4 separate regions of the Homo sapiens genome follow, and regions 2, 3 and 4 are each linked to region 1. The links are contacts of gene promoters, found by promoter capture Hi-C in human tissues and cell types (Jung and others, 2019). All regions are on one chromosome and are shown on one strand. Each heading gives the region's core, a stretch centred on a gene start or on the middle of the fragment in contact. The rest is flanking DNA. Distances are from core to core; before and after follow the strand shown.

What was found. Contacts are between HindIII fragments. The study calls those that stand out against the background at their distance.
Region 2: a contact is called between a fragment that was not itself captured here and the fragment with the promoter of LYPD6B in region 1, in 2 of the 25 tissues and cell types used here (H1 embryonic stem cells and spleen).
Region 3: a contact is called between a fragment that was not itself captured here and the fragment with the promoter of LYPD6B in region 1, in 4 of the 25 tissues and cell types used here (bladder, mesenchymal stem cells, pancreas and 1 more).
Region 4: a contact is called between a fragment that was not itself captured here and the fragment with the promoter of LYPD6B in region 1, in 4 of the 25 tissues and cell types used here (H1 embryonic stem cells, bladder, liver and 1 more).

What each region holds. Positions count from the first base shown.
Region 1 is chr2:149,036,501-149,041,821 of GRCh38, reverse strand. LYPD6B (LY6/PLAUR domain containing 6B) reads right to left here and starts at 3,123. Exons shown (of 7, transcript NM_177964.5): 1 at 3,021-3,123. RefSeq lists enhancers at 2,631-2,690, 2,731-2,780, 3,994-4,053 and silencers at 2,861-3,020, 3,031-3,370. The HindIII fragment of the contact is 10,219 bases long and covers 1-5,321 here.
Region 2 is chr2:149,195,097-149,200,472 of GRCh38, reverse strand. All of the region lies in intron 3 of LYPD6B (LY6/PLAUR domain containing 6B), which reads right to left. Among named protein-coding and RNA genes, the nearest start is that of MIR9899, 130 kb to the left of the region's middle. The HindIII fragment of the contact is 4,767 bases long and covers 1-4,705 here.
Region 3 is chr2:149,214,037-149,219,145 of GRCh38, reverse strand. It overlaps LYPD6B (LY6/PLAUR domain containing 6B), which reads right to left. Exons shown (of 7, transcript NM_177964.5): 7 at 3,884-4,600. The coding sequence ends at 4,436. Among named protein-coding and RNA genes, the nearest start is that of MIR9899, 110 kb to the left of the region's middle. The HindIII fragment of the contact is 4,926 bases long and covers 810-5,109 here.
Region 4 is chr2:149,243,033-149,248,567 of GRCh38, reverse strand. No RefSeq gene overlaps it. Among named protein-coding and RNA genes, the nearest start is that of MIR9899, 85 kb to the left of the region's middle. The HindIII fragment of the contact is 4,122 bases long and covers 1-3,856 here.

The DNA.
Region 1 (5,321 bases), core at 1,874-4,373:
ATTTACTATGCTTCTTAGTGACATCCATGGAATCTAATACAGGGTAGTCCTGTCTTTACTTACTTTTCCAACCTCAGCTCCTTTCCTCCCCTCAGCCACACCCTAGGCATCTCCCATGGTATTGGACTTCTGATTACCAATCTGTGCCAGACCTTGCATCACCTGTCCCCACCTCTGGGAGACACAGTTTGTTGCCTACCTAACAGCCCAACAGGCAGTCTCACTTTCCTCCTTGCTAACAGAATTCTGATTGTGTTCAGACATGGAGCATGGATGCTCAGGTAGGTGAGCCCCTCCTACAGCTCCGGAAAATAGCTTGGGCAAAACAATCATGGGCCCCTCTTCTCCTTTGCCAATGACTGGTTTCAGGGTAAGCGTTAGACCACTTTGGCCAGTGACGCGGGGAACTTCGGGGAAAATTTGTCCTTTATTATCTAGAGAAAGATTAAGCAGCAAGCCCCGGCCTTCTTTTTTCTGCTTTGGATGTTGTCATGTGAAGGCATGATGGAGCTCTAGTCACCCTGGAAAAAGAAGATAATTTTCTAGAAGCCACCAAAGAGCTGTGGCCACTTCGAACGACCTACCTTCAGATGTTCTAAGCAAGAAAGTAGAGTAACCTAAACATATTACAACAAAAAGTGTCCCTCTGGAATCCTACCACATGGCCTAGAATTTTTCTCCTAGACCAGCCCTTCTCATTTTCTTTTTTTTTTTTTTTTTTTTGAGACGGAGTCTTGCTCTGCTGCCCAGGCTGGAGCTCATTTTCAATTCAAAGCTCAACTACAGTTTCTTTGGGGAGTCTTCACTACGTCCCCAGACAGATGAGTCCTAGACGATGTTATCCTCATATCTGTCTTTCCAACTAGACTGTGAGCTTCTCAAAAGCAAGCATTTTCGCCCTTGGCAGAGGCCCTGGCATATGTTGAGCATTTATTATATGTCGAATGAATGAATAAACAAAAAACAATGAATGAAAAGATGGACACACAGGATGCCCTCCATGCATTAGATGAAGACTTGACTGATGGAATACGGCCCTCAGGCTGTCTACATTCTACTGCAGACTACCTTTAGGCGCTGGTGAGCAAAGACAGAGATAGTAAAATGAACATGTCCTGTTTTGTCAGACTTCTCATTGGGAATTGCGCCCCCTACCGACATGCCTTGCAGCAGAGGTGGGCCAGTCTATCAATCACAGTCGGTCATGTGCCCATTCCTGTTGTGTAAACCTCTCCCTGTCTGCTGAGATGGCTTGGTTCTGTTTTGGTCCAGTATGTCAATAAGATTGCTATAAGGGGCCGGGTGCAGTGGCTCACTCCTATAATCCCAGCACTTTGGGAGGCCAAGACGGGCAGATCACTTGAGGTTAGGAGTTCGAGACCAGCCTGGCCAACATGGTGAAACCTCATCTCCACTAAAAATACAAAAATTAGTCCCACGTGGTGGCCGGCGCCTGTAACTCCAGCTACTTGGGAGGCTGAGGCAGGATAATCGCTTGGACCTGGGAGGTGGAGGTTGCATGCAGTGAGCCGAGATCACACCACTGCACTCCAGCCTGGGTGACAGAGTGAGAGTCTGTCTCAAAAGAAAAAAAAAAAAAGAGAGAGAGAGAGAGAGACAGAGAGAGACTGCTATACGGATAGAGAAGATGGGATTCTCTCTCTCCCTCTTTGTCTCTGTCTCTCTCTCTGAAGGAGCAGATAAGCCTGAAGGTGCAAGTCCTATTTATCGTCCATACTAAGAACCAGTAAACACAGAGAGAAAAACAGCTAAGATATACAAGAGAGAGAACTAGCCCTGGAACCTTGTATGAGCCTCTGGAACTAGCTATAGCTTTAAACTGAAACCCTCGACCTTTTCATTTATGTGACCCAATCAATTTCTACATAGTATAAGGCAATTTTCAAGTGACCAAAACCCAACCCAAAGAAAACAATTCTGACAAATACGATGGGTAATGATGAGGGCAGTCTGACAACACCCCCTCCATCTGCAGGGCCCGTGCACTGGCAGCCCTAATCTTGGCCTCTGTGATGCTGTCAGCAAGTAAGGCATCCTGGAGGAAGCCTAACCATGAACAAGTCAGGGTGGGAAAGAATGCCCCCACCCCACAACACACACATCACCACATCAACACAAAGGGGGAAAAATCAAGCAGTATGCTATGTACTCCATGAACATCATATAACCTAAGTCTGTTGTAATGATTATAATATTAATAATACCTATTTTACTTTAAGGGAACTGAGGCTCAGAGCAGTTCAGTAACTTGCCCAAGGTCACACAGCTAGTTACTGGAATTTAAATAGCATTCTAGACTTTTCCCACTCTCTGATCCCCTGGCCTTGGGAGGTGGACAGCACCCCTCCACCCACCAGCTCCCCCCAAACGCCACAGGGCATACAGACCTGAAGCCTCACAACCCAAGCCCCCTGGAGTCAGAGCAGCCTCCAGACCCGGCTTTTGAGAAGCCCCAGGTAACTAACCAATGTGTAAGGTAGGTTATTCAACAACAAAAGTAAAGAGCCGGGGCAAGGGAAGCGGCGGCACCCAAGCTGGTCGCGCGTGAAGCGCTGCAGGGGGAAACACTGGAGCTGGCACGCTCGCTCTTGGCCCCACGATCGGCCTTGAACCCCAGCCCCAGCTCCGCGCTCTCTCCAGCAGTTTGACCCCCAGTATCTCCTCTCCCCTCGGCTCTGCCGAAGTCACTGGCCCCGCAGGGCTCTGGACGATTAGAGACCCACACCGCTCCAGCCTTGCCCCGGCCCCCTGCTCCCGTCCCGTCCAGATGTTGGCAGCTGCTCGCCTCGAGGCAGCGACCAGACCCCGACCCCGCCACTGCGCCGCGGCCCCGCGGCCCCGCGGCCCCGCGGCCCCGCGAGCTCCTGGCTGCCCCAGCGCGCCCAGAAGGGGCGCAGCGCATCTCCCGCCGCAGTCGCGCGGCCCCGCACTCGCTCCGGCGCGGGGTGAGCCGTCCCGAACCCACCACCGCCCCCGCCTGCTGCGCTGGCCCAGCTCACCTCGCCGCCCGCGCCCACCGAGCCTCTCGGCGCCCTCACCCGGCTCCCGGCCCAGGCTCCCAGCGCACCCGCCTGGGGCCGGCGTTGGCTGCTACCGCGCGGGGCGGGGCGCGGCTCCTCCCTGCCCTGAACCACCTGGGGCGCGGGAGGGGGCCGGGCCGGGACAGGTGAGCCTCGCCCGCGAGGGAGCAGCCCCGGGCCCGGCTCCGCTGGGAAACCGCAGGGCTCCACCACGAGGTTGAAAGGAGGCCCAGGCGGGCGGCAGTGTGGTAGTGGCCAGCGCTGGGGAGGCGGCAAGGAGCCTGTTCCCACCCAGCCAGCCCGGCTCAGGAAGTGAAAGAAGCACGGGATTCGGACCCCACCCAGCTTAAAGAGGGGAGGGTCCAACCCCTTTCTTCCTAGAAAACCAATGTAGAAACGAGGAGTGCAGACCCTCGGGAGTGAAAATGATTGGGCCAAGGGTGCAGGTGAGTTAGTTCAGGATTGGAAGAACTCTGAAAGACCTTTTTTGACCATTCCATCCAACCCCGTCCCCACCTTGCCCACCCGTCAAGTGATTCCCTCCCCCTTTTTAAATAATGACATTAAGCTATAAATAAGATAATTTCATATAGTGACGTCCTCCCCACCCCTGGACGGTAAGCCCCAGGAGAGGCAGGAACCTTACCCGTCCACTACTGAATCACCAGAGCTTTGAAAACTCAGGGCATTTAATACCTGATGAACAGACTAGGTGGCGCCCAGTCTTTTGCGTCCAGCGTTAGACTGGTCCCCTCGGCCCAGAGCTGCTCCAGCATCATTCCAAGCTTACTAGGGAGAATCCAGAGGCAAGCTGTTAGATTCCGGGCCACCTGTCCTCTCTCTACTGCTTACTCCCCACCCACTGCCAGCCAGGCAGCTGGGATGTGGGAGGTCTACACTCCCAGGGCACCTTATAGTGGTCAAGCAAATCTTTAACTTCTGAAGATGCCACAGACAGGAGAACTCTGAAATAAAACACTGTCCGGCCAGCCTTGCACTGTGGAAACACAGCTCAGAGTATGGGCCACTGACCCAAGATTCCATGGCTGGTAGCAAAGCTGATCCTGGGTCTGCATTTCTAAAGACAGTTGGCTGGTCTGGGGCCTTTGAGGGGCTGCTGGTTATGCCTGCAGTGGGGAAACCTGGGTACAGAACTTCTGCAGAAGTGGGGTCTGGGTTTGGTCCTCTGCTGAGACTTCTAATCTGTCTTTCCAGACCTCTGAGGTCAAGCATCTCCTGAGCCAGCTTGCATTTATTGAGGCCCCTGACAACCGCAAAAACAAAAACAATGGTATTTTTAGGTGTTCCATTTAACAAATGGCCTTCACTCACACACACACACACACACACACACACACACACACACACACACGAGGTAATGTGTCATGCTGCTCCTCACATGTTAATTTCAAGACTCGTTAAAAAAATCCATTCCGTGAAAAAATTCATTTCACTGCAGAAAGCACTGTACAACTTTAAAGTTGTATGGAGAACATTCCTTCTTATGACTATTTCAGTACACTTCCGTGACTATATATTAAACCTCCAAGGCCAAAATGGGAGGATCTCTATTAAGGTGAGGTCAGGGCCAAGAAGACTGCTCCACCCCTCCACTGACAACAAGCCCAACACTCTTAAGGTCTAGACACCCCACCCCTTCAGTGGGTTCTGCACATATGGGTATTTCAGATCTGGTGTTACCTGGCTGGCTACGTCACACTGGGCAAGGCCAACCTAGAAAAGGTTATATGGGATGCCCCACCTAGGTGTGCCCTACCTCAGTTGCTACTCCCTCTATGGTGGCAGGGAATCTGGTGTCCCAGGGTGGAGCTGTGGTGGGGCCTGCACTTTGGGACAGCCACTTGCACCAGCAGGTAGGGCTGAGCAAAGGAGCACCTCTGGGTCTCACTCACATGAAATGGACCTAGACCTTTTTTTGTGTTGGTTTCAGTCAGTAGAGCATGTGATCCCCTGTGATTTAAAATCCTGCTGCTGTGCGTGTGATCTTGGCTGGGCCAGCCTGCTAAGTGATGCCACCCAGACAGGCCTGAGAATCATCAGGAGGGTACAGGTTCTGCCCCAGTGCTTGCTTGCTTGCACGTGATCTCTCCCTCCCCACCCCACTCTCTCTCCTGTGCTTGCTGAGCAGCCTTGGGCATGTTCCTCAATTGTGTGTTTTTCCTACTTGGAAAATGTGCAGCCATGAAATCAGACAAGATCTCTGTTTGAAGTTTTTTGCTTAAAAGGGGTATCTGAAATAAGAAGTTCTGATACTGTTGT
Region 2 (5,376 bases), core at 1,073-3,572, 160 kb before region 1:
TTTATGGAATAGAGCCAACCTCATTAGCTATGACCTATAAAGAGTGCCTTAGCTAGTAAGCAAGACAAAAGTTGTGGGCAGTAAAGAATTGGCAGGGTGTCCAAAGATGATAAAGAAATGATGAAAGGTGATTTGAAAAAGAAGAGACTAAACAAAGGTGGCAAATGCTGCCATTTCTTGCACAATTGCTAAAAATGAGTCAGCAAGCACAAGGCCAACTTCAGCTGCCAATAAAATAAATGAAATACATAATGTAAGGGGAACAGCTCTACTAAGTCCAACATGCCTATCAACACTCACATTCACACCTTCCTGCAAGCACCACTTATCTCACAGTAAGACACTTTAATGACATCTTTAACAGGCCTGGCTTCCCTTGTAAAAAGAATAGAAGGCAAAGTGGAAATTCAAAATGAGAGCAGAAGTTTTACTCAGAAAGAATGGAACAGACAAAAAGACTCCTCCTCCAAAGGGAAATTGGCCAGAAAAGTTTACCATTTACTTGCTTCTGGCTGTTAGGCCAGGTTGGCAACTGGAGATATTTTGGTTCCCATTAAATTTAGGAAGAACACAGGTGGGGCTTAGTCAAGACCAGGTGCTCACTCCCTTCCTTGCAAGGGAACTGAGGCTTCAGTTCCTAACCTTCCCTGGGCGTTGGGAACCCAGTTCCTACGGCTTCAATTTCTCTTTGCCAATAGGTTCTCTATTTCTGGTACATGGAGTGTTGTTTTCCCCCACAAGTTTAAATATGAATTATTTTAATTTTAATATATTTAAGCTAGCATTCTATGTGCCTGAAGCAGAATAGGAGAGAGAAGTTGAGCTTACAATCAACCCCATCATCTTGATCTGACGATTAGATCTCTATAGAGCACAACAGACTTTACTCTTGGATAACAACATTCAATAGGAAAAAATAAAATCATGATTCAGCCTCAGCCTTCACTATAGCTTGTCCAAACCTTGAAAGTAGTGCAATTATAAGTCATGCATTTGTACCAGGTACTGTACTGAGCACACCGTCCTTGTGCGCTCAAAAATTATTGGGACCAAAAGTCAATATGAGCCACTGGTAAGATGTGACTGACAAGAATTAATACAATCATCTTTGAGAGGAGGAATAACAATGAGCTTTAGGTTCAGAAATACCTAGAAGAAAATTCTGGTTCTACATTTACCAATCAGGTGACCACAGAGTTAAGAAATACTGTGCCCATTTGCCAGTAAGAAAAGTGAGTCTTAGAGTCACACAGGAAACTTCTAAGTTGTGGTGTGGATTGAGCACAATTACATAAGTAAAATACATTTTACTTAGATGGGGTTCAAGAAATCTTAGGTGCCTGCTTCCCGCATTTCTCCCTCCTTCGCCCTTGCTTTAGACATCATTAGCAGCAGAATAGAGATCAGATCAAGTGGCATAAATGTTCAGCTTCATCGCATACTGGCTGGAGTAAATCTGGTCAACAGGATTGAGTTCTGTGCACTGATTTCTTAAGATTTAGAAATTCTCTCTATTGCAACCAAGGGAAAGTTGGAATGAATGACTGCCAAGGTCCCTTCCACTTCTAATATTCTGTAATTTTTATGGAAAGAGATTAATGAAGAATTCTAGTTATTCCATAAAGAGTCATAAATGTAATACAGCAGTCCCATCACATTTCAGATTCCTGCTGTACTGCTTTAAATAATCTAAACTTACAAAAAATCTCATCAAGCATAGGATCAAAAACTCATCAGAAATAAGTAACTCATTTTTTAAGTATAAAGCTGTATATTTTGCAATGCCAAAGACAGAAGCTTTTTCTACTACATGCAACCTGATCAAAGAGAATGTCTAAAGCAGCACTGATGTTAAAATAATTTCATTATGCAAATCAATTTTCAATCTAATCATGAATTAATACATGGCCCATAAGTGTATAATTTGGGTGGAGAAACAGTCTAATCAATTTTAAAGACATCTTTTTAAATGTGATTCAAATTTTAAGAAAAACCTAAAAGACTCTTCTAAGGTAACAGCTCTTCAACTACATTTCTGTCAAAGACAGGATTTTATACCTTTCTGGAGAAGGCTTTCATGACACCAGAAAGGTAACATGGTAAGAGCTCCACATAGAAAAAATTTAAAAGCAGTGAGGCGCGGTGGCTCATGCCTGTAATCCCAGCACTTTGGGAGGCCAAGGTGGGCAGATCATGAGATCAAGAGTTCGAGACCAGCCTGACCAACATGGTGAAACCCTGTCTTTACTTAAAAAATACAAAAATTAGCTCGGCTGGTGGCACGTGCCTGTAATCCCAGCTACTCAGGAGGCTGAGGCAGGAGAATCACTTGAACCTAGGAGGCGGGGATTGCAGTGAGCCGAGGTCATGCCACTGCACTCTAGCCTGGGTGACAGAGCGAGACTCTGTCTCACAAAAAAGAAAAGAAAAAAAAAAAAAGAAAAGCTTAGATGTTTAGGAATTAGAAACTCCCTTTAAAAAGAATCAAGATTGGTTTGCCATGTCTTATCCAACTATTTGGACAAATGGTAGGAACCTAATAAGTGCGTTGATCACATTTGAGAGTCTCCTTCACACAGGTGAAATAATTTTTACCCTGTTTGTTTCCATAAATGATTTTTAGGAGGCTTATGCCAAGTCATGTATGCATTAAAGCTCTTAAAATACTGAATAAAACCCATACTGGATGAGAGGATAGCAAAGATCCTAACCCCTTCCATGAACGAAGCACTCAGCTGTGCATTTCCCTTTGCTCTGTACTTCCTAGAAGCCAGGGGAGACATGGGACGCACTGATTCTCATTATTTGAGAAAAGATAACTCTTCCTGATACTTAATTCTCTAATTAATGAGTCATACCAGCTACAATATAGGGGGCACCAAGCAACATATGAATAACACCTGAAATTCGTTTTGAGGACCTCCAGATGCATCCATCATTTGGCCATTTATTTATTTTTCTTGAGACAGAGTCTCGCTCTATCATCAGGCTTGAGTGCAGTGGTGCGATCTCGGCTCACTGCAACCTCCACCTCCCAGGTTCAAGCGATTCTCCTGCCTCAGCCTCCTGAGTAGCTGGGACTATAGGCGTGTGCCACCACGCTCAGCTAATTTTTGTATTTTTAGTAGAGACGGGGTTTCACCATGTTGGCCAGGATGGTCTCGATCTCTTGACCTTGTGATCTGCCCGCCTCGGTCTCCCAAAGTGCTGGGATTACAGGCATGAGCCACCGTGTCTAGCCTGACCATTTCTTTAAAAAAGCCAAGGACATAACATGGAAAGGTAATTCTATACAGACCCTTCTGCTATCAGGTATATAAATGAAAGATTTGTTTTTCTTTTCCATGGGAGAGGAGTGTCTTTATACTTGAGAGAAAGATATAGGTGGACAGAAGTTCTGCAGGAGAGCTGCTCTCTTTATTGAACTCATTTCTTTTAATAACCAATCAAAGCTCTCTTAAGAGAAATGGAGGCTGAAATGTCCTGCAGCTGGCTAACAGTCCATTACTCGACATTGGTTGAGTGGAGGAGTGTATCATGCCACAAATGCACTCTAATACGTGGCATTCAGTTGAGGAAATTTAGCATTCAGGGTCACTCGGTGTGTAAGGTGATGGCTAGCACTTTTTGACTTCGTTTAGCCTCAGCTGACATAGAAAAATGATCGTAAAAATAAAGTTTTCATACAGATGTGTTTCTCACTTGAGAAATGTCTCTGTATATGTGTGTTTGGATATGTGTATATGTGCATATACACAGACATACATATATTTTATTGAATGAATTCATTGCTTAAGCACTGTGTGCCAGATTGTAAAATTGTCCCTAGAACTCTGTTTAGGAGACAGTATTCCCTATAATCTCAACTGCCTTCAGCACCCACATGGTTATCTTTCAACTGGGAGAGCTGCACGATGCAGAATTGTTACTATGCATCTGTCCTGTCTTTTTACTTCTGTCCTAGGGTTTCATGTCGCTGACCATTGTTTATAAAGCCCCCACTCACTCAACTTTATTCTTGAATCCACATCTAGAAATATATTACCCAAGTAAAGAACATGTTTGTAGATATCTATCATTTTGAAACAGGAGGGCATTTAAAAACGAACAATAAACTGCATGCTATGGCAAAGAATATCATGCTGACTTTTGCATAGTCACAAAATCCAGAACAGATTATTCAAAGAACTCTCTGGAAGCTGACAAGCTTATAAAAGCAATACTAATAAAAAATTTCTGCATTCTGAATATATAACAAAGTTACAGCGTGTCACTTGCTCCATAAATTGCCACTATTACCACTTGGAGCAGAAGGAAATGTACATATATAAAGATATATATGTGCATAATTTCATATTCCCTGGAAACTGAAAAATTATGTATGTTAAATAGTGTTTTAATTGCAAAATGAAAAACTACATTAAATGGTTCACGATACGGTTCATGGTCCCACAAGGGTAAAGTCAAGTGTAAATGCTGCCTAGTATAATGGGGAGAAACCGGCCTCTGGAGGCACTCAGGCCTGGGGGCAAATTCTAGCTCTGTCCAGGATCTACTGCCTCTAGCTGATCACTGGATTGCTCTGAGACTGTTTCCCTATCAGTAAAATAGAGATATCAAATACCTATATTGCAGAGAGTTTTATGCAAATTAAAGGAGAATAAAAAATAAGCCCCTATCTATTTCCATTTTTGTCAAATTATTAAATCACTTAGAAAGCTCAATACAGAGATTTATTGTTCCTCTATGGATGATCATACAGGCCAATATCATTAAGGCCATACAATAGCTGACAAGATTTAAGACTGAAATTCAATATACATATTTTCAGCTCTCAAATTCTATGATTATCTGAGCACATATGACAGCAGAATGTAAAATTCCTCTGAAGACCAATTTTAAGAAAACTACTCTAACATACATGTGAGAGCAGTATTTAGGCTTCACTGGAGCATTTCCATTTATCAGCCTTCTGGTAAATCTATATGATTTGCCTATACTCATAAATAACACGCAGTAGTTCTCATAGCATTTGCTTTAAAAAGCAACAGGCTCTGTGCTTTCATTCGTATCATTGTTTTATTGCCTCAAGTGTGTGTCATACTTCCCATTCTGCTTTGAAGGTCCAGTTCATATATTTTTCATTCACAAAATCTTTCCATGCCTACTCCAGCCCATGAGTTGGTCTCTAGCCTGAAGAAAGCTTGGAGTTTGCTTGTGGACACAGACTGTCCTTCCTTGCTTAGCAATGGGTTGGGCAGAGAAGGCCCAGTCTATGTTTGGAGATGGGCTGAAGGTCTCTAAGTGAACACAGACCTCATACGCTTGCAGATATTGCAAATTTTAAAAAAATGACTTTTCACCTTTTTTGCCAAC
Region 3 (5,109 bases), core at 2,023-4,522, 180 kb before region 1:
AGGAGACTGTGAGCTCTCAACACAGAGCTCTGCAGCCTTATGTTGAGGGCCTGGGTTATTTTTTTCTAAAAAATGATGCCCTAAGACTACCAGGGTGAGAATCATCAATATCAGAATCAGATGCTTGTTAAAAATGAAGATTCTCAGACCTGCTAAATAGTACTTCCGGCATTGAGCTGCAGAAGCCCTATTTTTCACAGCCCCAACCAGAATGATCTCAACTCTGGATCACCCTAAAGACAGCTCAGCTTCCAGTCTCAGCATCTGATGAAATAGAAGCCAAGGCAAGGAGTGAGGGGGGCTGGGCAGGAGACAGAATTGTGAAGATGAGAGGGGAGTGGGAAGAGTAACAGAAAGATGCTGCACTGTTTCAGATACACAGTAGAGAAACTGTGACTAAAGGTGGACTCAAATCACAACTGTTTTTCAGTTTCTTGGACTTTCACCTTTGCCCATTTGTTAGCCTTTGTCTTCTGGCATGATCTGCACCCAGACACAATCAGTATCACCATGTAACCCTCTACAAATCCTATAGTTGACAACACATAATGATGCAATAAAATAAAATAGAATAAAATGTCCAAGATCCAAAGGTCATAGCAAACTTTGTAACTGGTGAGCTACATATCACAAGTTTCACCTAGGGATGATTTCACGAATGTAAAACATAGTTTCCCGATTTCATGCCACACCTCATCTCCCATGTCCATGCGTGTCCTCATTGTTCATTTCATGCTTTGCATGGCTTCATAAGTTCCTTTCCAGTGAGAAAGAGAAACCAACCCACCTTCATTTTCTTCCTTTTTCTTATGAAATATATTTTACCCAGTGATTGACATGACAGAATGCAGATTGTATAGAAAGTAATGCCGATAATTTCTGACTGCTTTCACTCAGAATTGAATTTAGGGAGCATTTACACGTGGGTGGGGAAAGGTGTTAGGTAACTTTTTTTTTCAAGGAATGATTGATGGATGGAATTCAAAGTTTATTCTAGAATGTAGATCTATTCAAAGTGGACCTTTGACAGGCCATTCCCTCAGATCTTGCTCATATTCATAGCTAATCCCCTTGTCTCTTTTATACTAACAAATCTACATGTTCCCCGTCTTTCCTCACTCCACTACTGTGATTCTCATTGGACATTTTGACACCAAAGTATTTCTCATTTTCTTACTCACTAGGGGCAAATTAAATTAATCTGAGGCCTGGGATGCTTGGCCATCCCAGGTCCCTATGCAATGGACTTTAAATATCTATGCAGTGGACTCTAATGATTGAATTTATTTTTTGCATTCTAGTTTTTAAATTACATTGAAGATACCACAGAGTTAACTTAAAGTACATAGGGCTTTCAGATTAGAACTCAAAGGTCAGGTTTTGGAGTCTGGGCCTTCTGATCACCAACATCATTTCCATCTTTTATTATTTCCTTTGGTGGCACCCAAAGTGGCTGTGCTTCAGAATCATTTGAGGAATTTTTTTTAAACTACACATTTTTTGACTCAACGCAGAGAATCTAACTTTGAAGTTGGGGCCCAGGTTCATTTTTTTCTTTCTTTTTTTTTTTTTTTTTACAATATCCCCCAAGCAATCATGCAGATACCAGGGACACATTTACTGAAGACTTTTAGGGAGCACTTCTATCTGGTCCAGGGGTTCTTAAACTTTCACATGCATCAGAAGCACCTGGAGACCTTGTTAAATCACCGGTTGAACCTGCAGAGTTTCTGATTTAATAGGTCTGAGATGGAGTCTGAGATTTGCATTTCTAACAAGTTTCCAGGTGACGCTGTGGGGCCACACTTTTAGAGCTATGCCTGTAACCGTGGTTGCTTGTGTATGTGTTTATTACTTATTAGCATACCTATTATGTGGCCAAGGAGCAGGCTTCAGAAGAAGGAATGATCCTCTCACATCAGAGGTAACACCTGGATAAGCATTATCATCACCCGAGAGCTTTTGTTTGTTTAAATTTAACTTTCAGCTATTGGGGTAGGCTTGAGCTTCACCTCAGAGCTACTGAATCAACATCTCCAGAATGTCCTGGGAACTTGTTTTGTTTTGGAGTTACTCAGAAGATTCAGATTTATTACAAGGATTTGAAACCATTTCCTTAGACAAGCCCATCTTGTGAGTTCATGAATAACTTACACAAAAAATTATTTGATTTTATCTGAAATTCAAATTTGGTGGGGAATCCCATATTTTTATTCATAATCCCCTGTTCACTCAGCTGCCTTTACCAGAAGTTTGTTTCCTTTGCACTCCCTCCTTTGCTCAACATACCCCGATTTTAAATGCTTAAGGGAATGGAGGTGAGACGTGAAATCCATATGAACTTGATGTTCAGGGTGAAGAAGAGAAAATTAAGATATTTCCTCAGGAAAGAAAAAAACACACACAAAAGAAACTTCATTAATCTATACAGCAGAAACAAAATCAGAGAAAAAAAAGTGCTGTCTGCTAATGGTTTTTTACCAGACAATTTGTCAATTACACAGTCAAAAGAAACCCTGGGGAATAAAAAGATGCCAAAGATGCCATTAAAATTTCCAAGTGAAGCCATATATAATTATTTTCAAACAAGTATAAGCTATGAAAATGCAAATACTTCAAGATGCTGAGTGAAAGATAGGATAAATCTACATTAGGCTTCAAAACTGATGCTACCAAGTGAGTCTAAGTTTGGGCCAGAGACAGGGAGATAATGATGTCTGCCCCCTCCCTGTTTGATAGGACGCTAAGGAGCCTTAAGATGAAATGCTCCCAGTGTGTCAAGGATGAGAAGAAACATAAATACAGCTCAGCCCCTGACATCAGTACATAACTACAAGATGGAATCAAATACATGAAACAATCAAAACAGAAGACAAATTCACTGACTCAGAAGACAAAGAAAACAAGGGAAGTGATTTGGCCAACCATTGCTCAGGCTGAGTAACCACCATTAGCAACATGGTGCCTGCAAAGAAAGTGGCTTTCTCCTTAAGCAGTCTTGACATCCCATAGGTTAGGGGTCAGCAAATTTTTCCTGAAAAGGGCAAGATAGTAAAGCTTTTAGACTTTGCAGACTATGCAGTCTCTGCTGCATCTCTGCAACCCTGCCATTATAGCACAAAAGGAGACACACACAATACATAAACAAGTGGCCATGGCTGTGTTTTAATAAAAACTTATTCACAAAAATGGGTGGTGGAATGTATTTGGCCTGTGGGCCATAATTTGCCAACTCATGTCATAGGTGAGCCCATATGGCAAGGATAGCATCATTAATACCTAGAGCCTACAAGGGCACCCAGCATTCTAATGATGGATATTTAATTGGGGGGAAAAACCCATTCCATTAGCTCATCACTATAAATACAAGGGCAGAGAGTTTAAAAGTCATCCCAAAGTGTGACTGAAGGCAGGAAATCAGAATTCTAGAAACAGGAAGAAGATGCTCATTTGAAATTCAGAGATTGCACTGTAAGTGGAAAGAGAAGAGAATGGGACCAAACATTTAGCATGTATTTACAGAAGTTCTCTTGGTAGACATGGCATGCATAGAGAATATGACTGAAGGAGGAAAATGGACCCCCCCTTGCCACTTTCTGTGACTAGAACTTTTGAAGCTACTACTGCTGAGGGTGCATCATATGACAAGGTGTCATCTTCCTTTATCAGGGAGGCTTCCCAGATATTCTCAATTCACTAAGTTTGTATTAACATCCTAAAATGCATCTCTCCCCCAAAAGAAAAAAGCTAAATAGCTTCAGCATCAAATTTTATAGTTTAACACATATCACCAACGGTTCATGGACACAAATGTCTATTTTATGACCCTGGTAACTGTTTCACCAGAGGTCTCCACATCAGTCAAGAAACACACAAGCATGCATTTACATTGTATAATTTAAAAGCTTTATTTCCCCCCATAATTTGCAAATAGATTTCATATTAGTTCCACTGGAAGTTTTCTTCGTACAGTTGCCTTTCTCATTGACTATGCTGTTGGTGGGGAAAACTGCTTTCTCATGAGGGGAAGGGTTAGATTTCATAGAGATGCTCTGAGCTAATCACATAAACAAGAGGGTTTGACCTGGCAGCCTCTGAGGCAGTCAAGGAGGTCAAGAAATCCTTTCAGCTAAAGGCCTAGTCAGGTGGGACTAGTTGCCAGGATCCTCTCTGCAGAACTGCCCAAACGTAGCTCTCTTTGACCAGGAAGCCTGGAAGTCAGACCATCTTCTCAGGCCCTGCCAAATTCCCATCCTCAGTCCTGTGGCCTCATGCGGGAACATTTTATCCAAGCAAACCACTGGCTTTCGCCTTGAGGTCCAATGTGCACTCTTCACCAAGTGCAAGATTGATCTTCACTCCAAAGTTCACCGTTCACACAGTTTTTGGCTTGTGCTTTAGAGGCTGGTCTCTGCCTCTCCTAGGAATGGTGGCATCACAGCAATGGAAGCACAAAGACCCAGGCAAGCACTGGTAGGTAGAGTGTGGGGGCACTGCTGCCAGATGTTCTCTGAGCGTGCATTACGGCAAACACTGCATTAGTGTGATTGGTGGGTAATTCTACATTGCAGATCATTCCTTCACAGCAAGACCTACACTCCTGTTACAAAAAAGGAGAGAGGAAATGACAGTGAATAATAGAAGAGGGAAGGGGCAAAAGAAAGAAAGATAAAACAAAGGCTTCTTGAGCTCTATCTGAAGACAGACAATTGGAGTTGGTTATCCAATTTTGCATCATCTAGGCTCTTGGGTACCCTTCCCCCACCAATGCCAATAGAATGGAAGGGAAAAACCATGCTGAAAGTCTTTTATCCTAACTGTGATTTATCTGCATCAAATCCAAGCATTAGCAAGGCAAAGAGGAAGAGAAACTGCATAAGAGTGCTTGATTGAGTCCACAAATCTTCTAAAGGTTTGTAAGGGAAAACACTCAGACAAAAATGAAAGCTAGGAACCTTTCGGATTAGTCATTGATTTTCTTTCTCAGTGCTACTTGTTAGGGGATAATAATGACTCTCTATTGTCTATGCTAACACCTGATTCTTATCATTACAGCAACAATGGTTTACTAATTATGGTTGCTGAGTGGTGTAAGAAAAAATAAAGGCT
Region 4 (5,535 bases), core at 546-3,045, 210 kb before region 1:
GAGTGTCCCCTAGGTGCAGATCCAAAAATTCCAATCATCTAACATTAATAAAGCAATGTACCAGGCAGCCCCACCTGAAGTCTCAGAAAACGTCAGGTTGCAATTCATCCTTCATTAGACAGTATCTATTAGCAAAGGAAAATATCAAAGTCCACTTCCAGATGTTACAGAGTTGTTAATGCGAAGAAGCTTTATCCACATGTGAAAGCAAATTCTGCAGCCTGAGGAAGGCAGGTGCCATGAAAGCAGCACCTTTCATGGAGATTCACAGAGTTACTAAATTCTAAGGGTCTGAAACTGCCCAATAAGCCATGACACCCAGCAGCTTCAGAATGCGTGTTTCTCCTTTTAGTATTGACCCAGAAGTAAAGGTCAGTTCCTTGCTTCGTTTGGCAGAAAAGATAGTTTCCAACATGCAGAAAACATTGAGGAGTTGATGTAGAGAAAGGAACTTGCAGAATTTTTCTATCTTTTTTCCAAAATTTGTTCATTACAGGCATACCCTGTGCTCTCTGAATCCATCTCCTAGGTGTATACTCGACAGTCTTTAAATGTGCACCAAAACACACATACAAGATAGCAATGGTAGCTTCGTTCCTAATGGCCCCAAGGTGGAAATGACCCAAATGTCCACTATTGGAATGGATAAATTATGGTATATTCATATAAAGGAATAATAACCAGCAATAAAAATGAATAAACTACCACAGTATACAATATAAATGAATCTCCCAAACATAATTTTGAATAAAGTCAGACAAATAAAGAATATATACCATATAATTGCTTTTGTAAGAAGCTCAAAAATAGGGCAGCTTAATCTATGGTATGGGAGGTTATGACAGTGGTCACCTTTGGCTGGGGAAAGGGCAGGGGGAAGAAGGGTATAGGGATTGGGAAGGTGTCAGTGACGTTTTGGGATGCTGGGAATGTTCAATTTCCTGATCTAGATGGTAGTATGTGAGTGTGTTAACTTTGTGCTAATTCATCAAACACTTTGATTCGTGCATATTTCTATATGCATATTATATTTCAATTAAAATTTTTATCAAAATAGATTTTTTACCTTATTGCAAATTTCTTTTTTAATTTTCTGTATTTTATGTTTTGACATCTTAAAAAATCTTCCTGGCTAGTGAGAAGCTGCCCTTCTTGGGGCTGGTCAGTTCTTACAGGTAGCAAAGGGCCCAGCCTGTGTCACATATATGTGCAAACTAACCAATCCGGAGCCACACCTCCTCTATCTGGCCATACACCCCAGCGGGTAATATTCTTTTGTCTGATCATCCCCAGGCCAGGTGCCAGATAACTAGGCACCACACCTAAGTCCAAAGCCTGAGGAAATTATTCAAGCTAGCCAGTCCAAAACTATTTACCTGGCCCTGCCTTGCCTTTTTCTGGGGAACCACAATAAAGGCAGTGGCCTAAACTCTTCTTCCTTCTGACCACCTGGTGTCTTTCTCACGTGGCCTTGTGTGGTGTGGCATGACGTTCCTCTTGTCTTCAGGATCTGTAAGCATAACAGACTTTGTTTTCCTGAGCTTCTCCTATATCTCTTCTTATGGCCACACCCGACTGACCATCTCATAAAAGAATACAATACATTTATCAAATTGACTAACACATTAAAAAAAGGAGACATTGCCTTACTGTATAGGACTGATGAACAATTCAATCTAATTTTCCTATAATGAAACGAAGAAAATGAAACCATGTGTTGAAGTTGCCAACTGGGGCATTATCATTAAGTTAAACTTCCTTCTTTTGTCCAAATAACATGATCTGAAGCTCTAATCTAATAATTCATTATTACCATCTTTAAGTTACATTATTTTTATTTATTTGATTTGATAAGTTTCATATATTCATTATTGCTCTGAAACTATTTCTTTTTTTCATATGTACTAACAATCTCTTTTAAACCTTGAGGAGTATCCCACCTATCTTAATAGGCCAAAATTTAATCAACAAATTCATTTTCATATTTAATAATTGTGTTAATGTGTTTGGTATATTCTCTCTGAATATTCCCAGCTTCAACATTTCTAAGGTTTCAGACGCTGCTGATGAAACGCCAGCATTGGAGTTTCTTTTTATACATGTTCTTCCGGCTTCCTGATCAGTTTTGCTGCCTTCTTTGGACTGGGTCCACATTCATTATGTTTTTCCTAAGTTCACAATGTGCAGTGATTACATAGGAGGGGGGGAAACTCTGCATTGAGGAGCCTCCCTCCATCTCTTGCCCAGCCTTTCCTAGGCCTTTTTGGCAGCTTTAAGGAAGACAGCAACCAGTCTGGTTGGCCTGCACCAAAGCTGTTAGCTCACCTTTCATACATGTTATAAAAAATGCATTATTTGTATTTGCCACATTGAAGCTCATCTGCCTCATTTTGAAACACTCCAGAACAGATCCTTATGTTAGCTTTCTAAAAAAAAAAAAAAAAAAAAAAAAAAAATAGCTACTAGACATTCCTAGAGTTTCTTGAGTATTTTTGCAAAGTTGGCAACTTCTGTTCTCCTGCCTTCAAAACAATTATAAAAGACATAAAAATGTATAGGCCCAGCACCAGCTCCTACACGACCTCACATTTGGCCTTGCTGATCCAGAGAAGTACTTATGTAGTTCTTAGTTTACATTTACTGGCATTCGTCTGGTTTCTTATCCTTGATAACATATTTTCCAAAGCCTATGATAATACATTTTTAAAAGATTTTGACATGAAACCTTGTCTGACATTTCAAAAATCCAATACATACATCCAATAGTTGATGCATTCAAATAGTACAATAATAATAATTCACATTGGAAGCTTATCATGTACTGAGCCCCTTGCTAAGTGATTACATGCTTTTCTCTCTTTTAATCCTTTCAAATATCTGATGAGATAAGTACTATCACCATTCCTGAGGTCACTTTTTTTTCTACAATGGCATAGTCTTGATGAGAATTCTGGTATGTCTGATGCTGTCCACACTCTGAACACATTACTACCCGCTTTTCAGCTTACTTACTTCCTTAAGTAATTGAAATAGATACCACATGTTGTGTGAAATATTATGAATCTTCATGATCCCATCTTAAAATTAAAGCACCAAAGTGCATTTCAAAGCTAAATTGAAGTCAATTTTGGATTAGGGACACTCCTAAATAATCTGCCACCCTTAGCATTGGTAATCAACATTTGAATGTAAATAATTACAATTAAAAGAGTAATTGGAAAAAACACTTGACCTAAAGTTTTGGTACAAAGAAAGGAACAGAAGGAATCCCTCCTTTTGTCCCACTTCCCTGCTGCATGAGCATGTGATTCTATTGCACTGAAGATATTGCTAGCAAGCAAATATGTAGGCAGGCATATTCGATGTCTTTATATTTGTTACTTTATTTTTTCACTATTATTCTCTCTTCTCAAGTAAAAAGACAATGGGATTAGTGTGCCAGCCACTTATTTAATGTTAATATATGAATTGTACTTTAATTTTAAAGGACCATTACAAATGCCCAGATACTGGTCTACAGAAATCTCAAGAAAGAGGTACTTAAATTTTCAGAGGAAAAGTTAAGGGCCAAGGAGTCACCGAGAACATTATGCTAATGTATACAAATACTCATAAACAGAGTCCACTAAATTAGAAGCTTTGAACTGAATTGGTAAGATAAGTGAGGGTCACTATGACAATGTTGCTCCAAGACTGCTCCTCTAAAACAGGCTCAAATGAGGACAAGGAGAGTTTAAAAGGCTTAATTTGAAACAAGCTGAAAAAAGAAGCTTGATAGTGAAGAACTGCTGGACAGAAGTGAACTGGCATAAATTTCATTTTAGAAGAAGTATTTTTATGCTCAACATCATTAGCTCTGTGACTGAATCAAGAACGCTTGAAAATTAATTACTCCTCTATTCAAAAATGGAGATAAGCCAACACACACAGGCCAAGAAAAAGCTTGTTAGCCAAGCGTGTTAATGCGAAAGTTCTGAGGTCATGGAATACTCTGTGCATACCTCAGTCACCTTTGAGAATTGGGCAATGAAGAAAGAGAGCTGATGGGACCTAAAAGACATCTATTCATCTCAAGTATAAGCCAATTTCACCAAGGTTGAACTGTCTCCTTGAAGGGAATGATAAAATATTCACCAGGAATAGGCTTTTCCACGAAGAAAAAGAAAAAAAAAAACAAAAAAACCTTAGATCTTTTCACTGCATCTGCCTTACTTGTCCTAACTGCAGTTGCAAAGGGAAGAAAGAGGGAGGAGGGAAAAGCAGAAGGGAGGGAGGAAAAGAAGAAGGGAAGGGTTGCCAAAGGATAACTATTCCTTCTTTGTCCAAAAGGCTATCTAACATTTATGGTGAGGCTAAGACCGTGGTATTTAAATTTCCCACCACTGTCACATTTTATTCTTTTACTCTGCTATATTTTTTTCACAGTGCTCATTGTCATGTGCTGGTTGTCACATATTTTCTCCACTGCAATGCAAGCTCCATGCAGGCAGCGGTGTTGTCTCACTGCAGCTGTGGCTCCAGGTCCTAGAACAGTGCCTAAAACAGTAGGCACTCAATAAGTATTTGTGAAATGACTGCACAAATGAGTGAATGGTTGAGTTAATTAATTAGCTAGGGTACCAGAATATCCTGTTTTTTCAAAATATTAATATTCGGCTTCCTTTTCCTCATCAGCCATATTGACATGGAGGTGAGATGATTCTGACATTATTTCCTCAACCCCAAGCCCAAATTAGGACCACTGTCTTAAGCACACACACACATACACAAGTTTTTGTTGCAAAGAAATTCAAGCTGAAAAAAAAAATACACTCTGGTGGAAAGGGAAAAGATAGGAATGGGCCATTTTTAAAAAGAAGAGAAATAGCAAAAAATACACCCTCTGCATTAAAGAAATAAAATTAAAACAGAAATGAGATACCAATTTTTTAAAATCTTTGCCATTGGGATGCAAAAAAGCAATAATCACTGTTGCAAGTGTACAGGGAGATGAGCACTTTTATATGTTGCTAGTAGGAGTGTCAGGTGTTAAGTATTCTCTTCACACCACATAGTCTTGGTAGAGCTGTCAACTACAATGTCCATGCTTCTGCCACAGAGGTAAGCCCAAGATGGTCATAGGACCCAACAGAAGGAAGAGAAGAAGTTGTACTTGGAAGCTAATTCTTTCCCTGATGCAGATTACTACAGATATATAACAGCATTGAACTAATTCAGACAAATCAATGACCCAAGGATGGACCTAGCACTCTTCAATTGGCCATAAGTACAGTACCTTCTATGGACTTTTGGAGAAGGAGCAAGAAAAAGAACATTGTTTTTCTAAAGAGACAAAGCCAGAAAAGATGCACTATCCAAAGCAATGGAAATAAAACTACCTTGTAAGTGTCCAGTTCCTATCAAACCAAAACCCCATAGAACTACATCATTATCTAATAACACTGTAATGAAGAAAGTCAAAAAGGAAGTGCCTCATTGAATAATGTGCCAGACATAGCTATGTATGTGTTGATCCTCTCCCTGTGTATGTTTCTT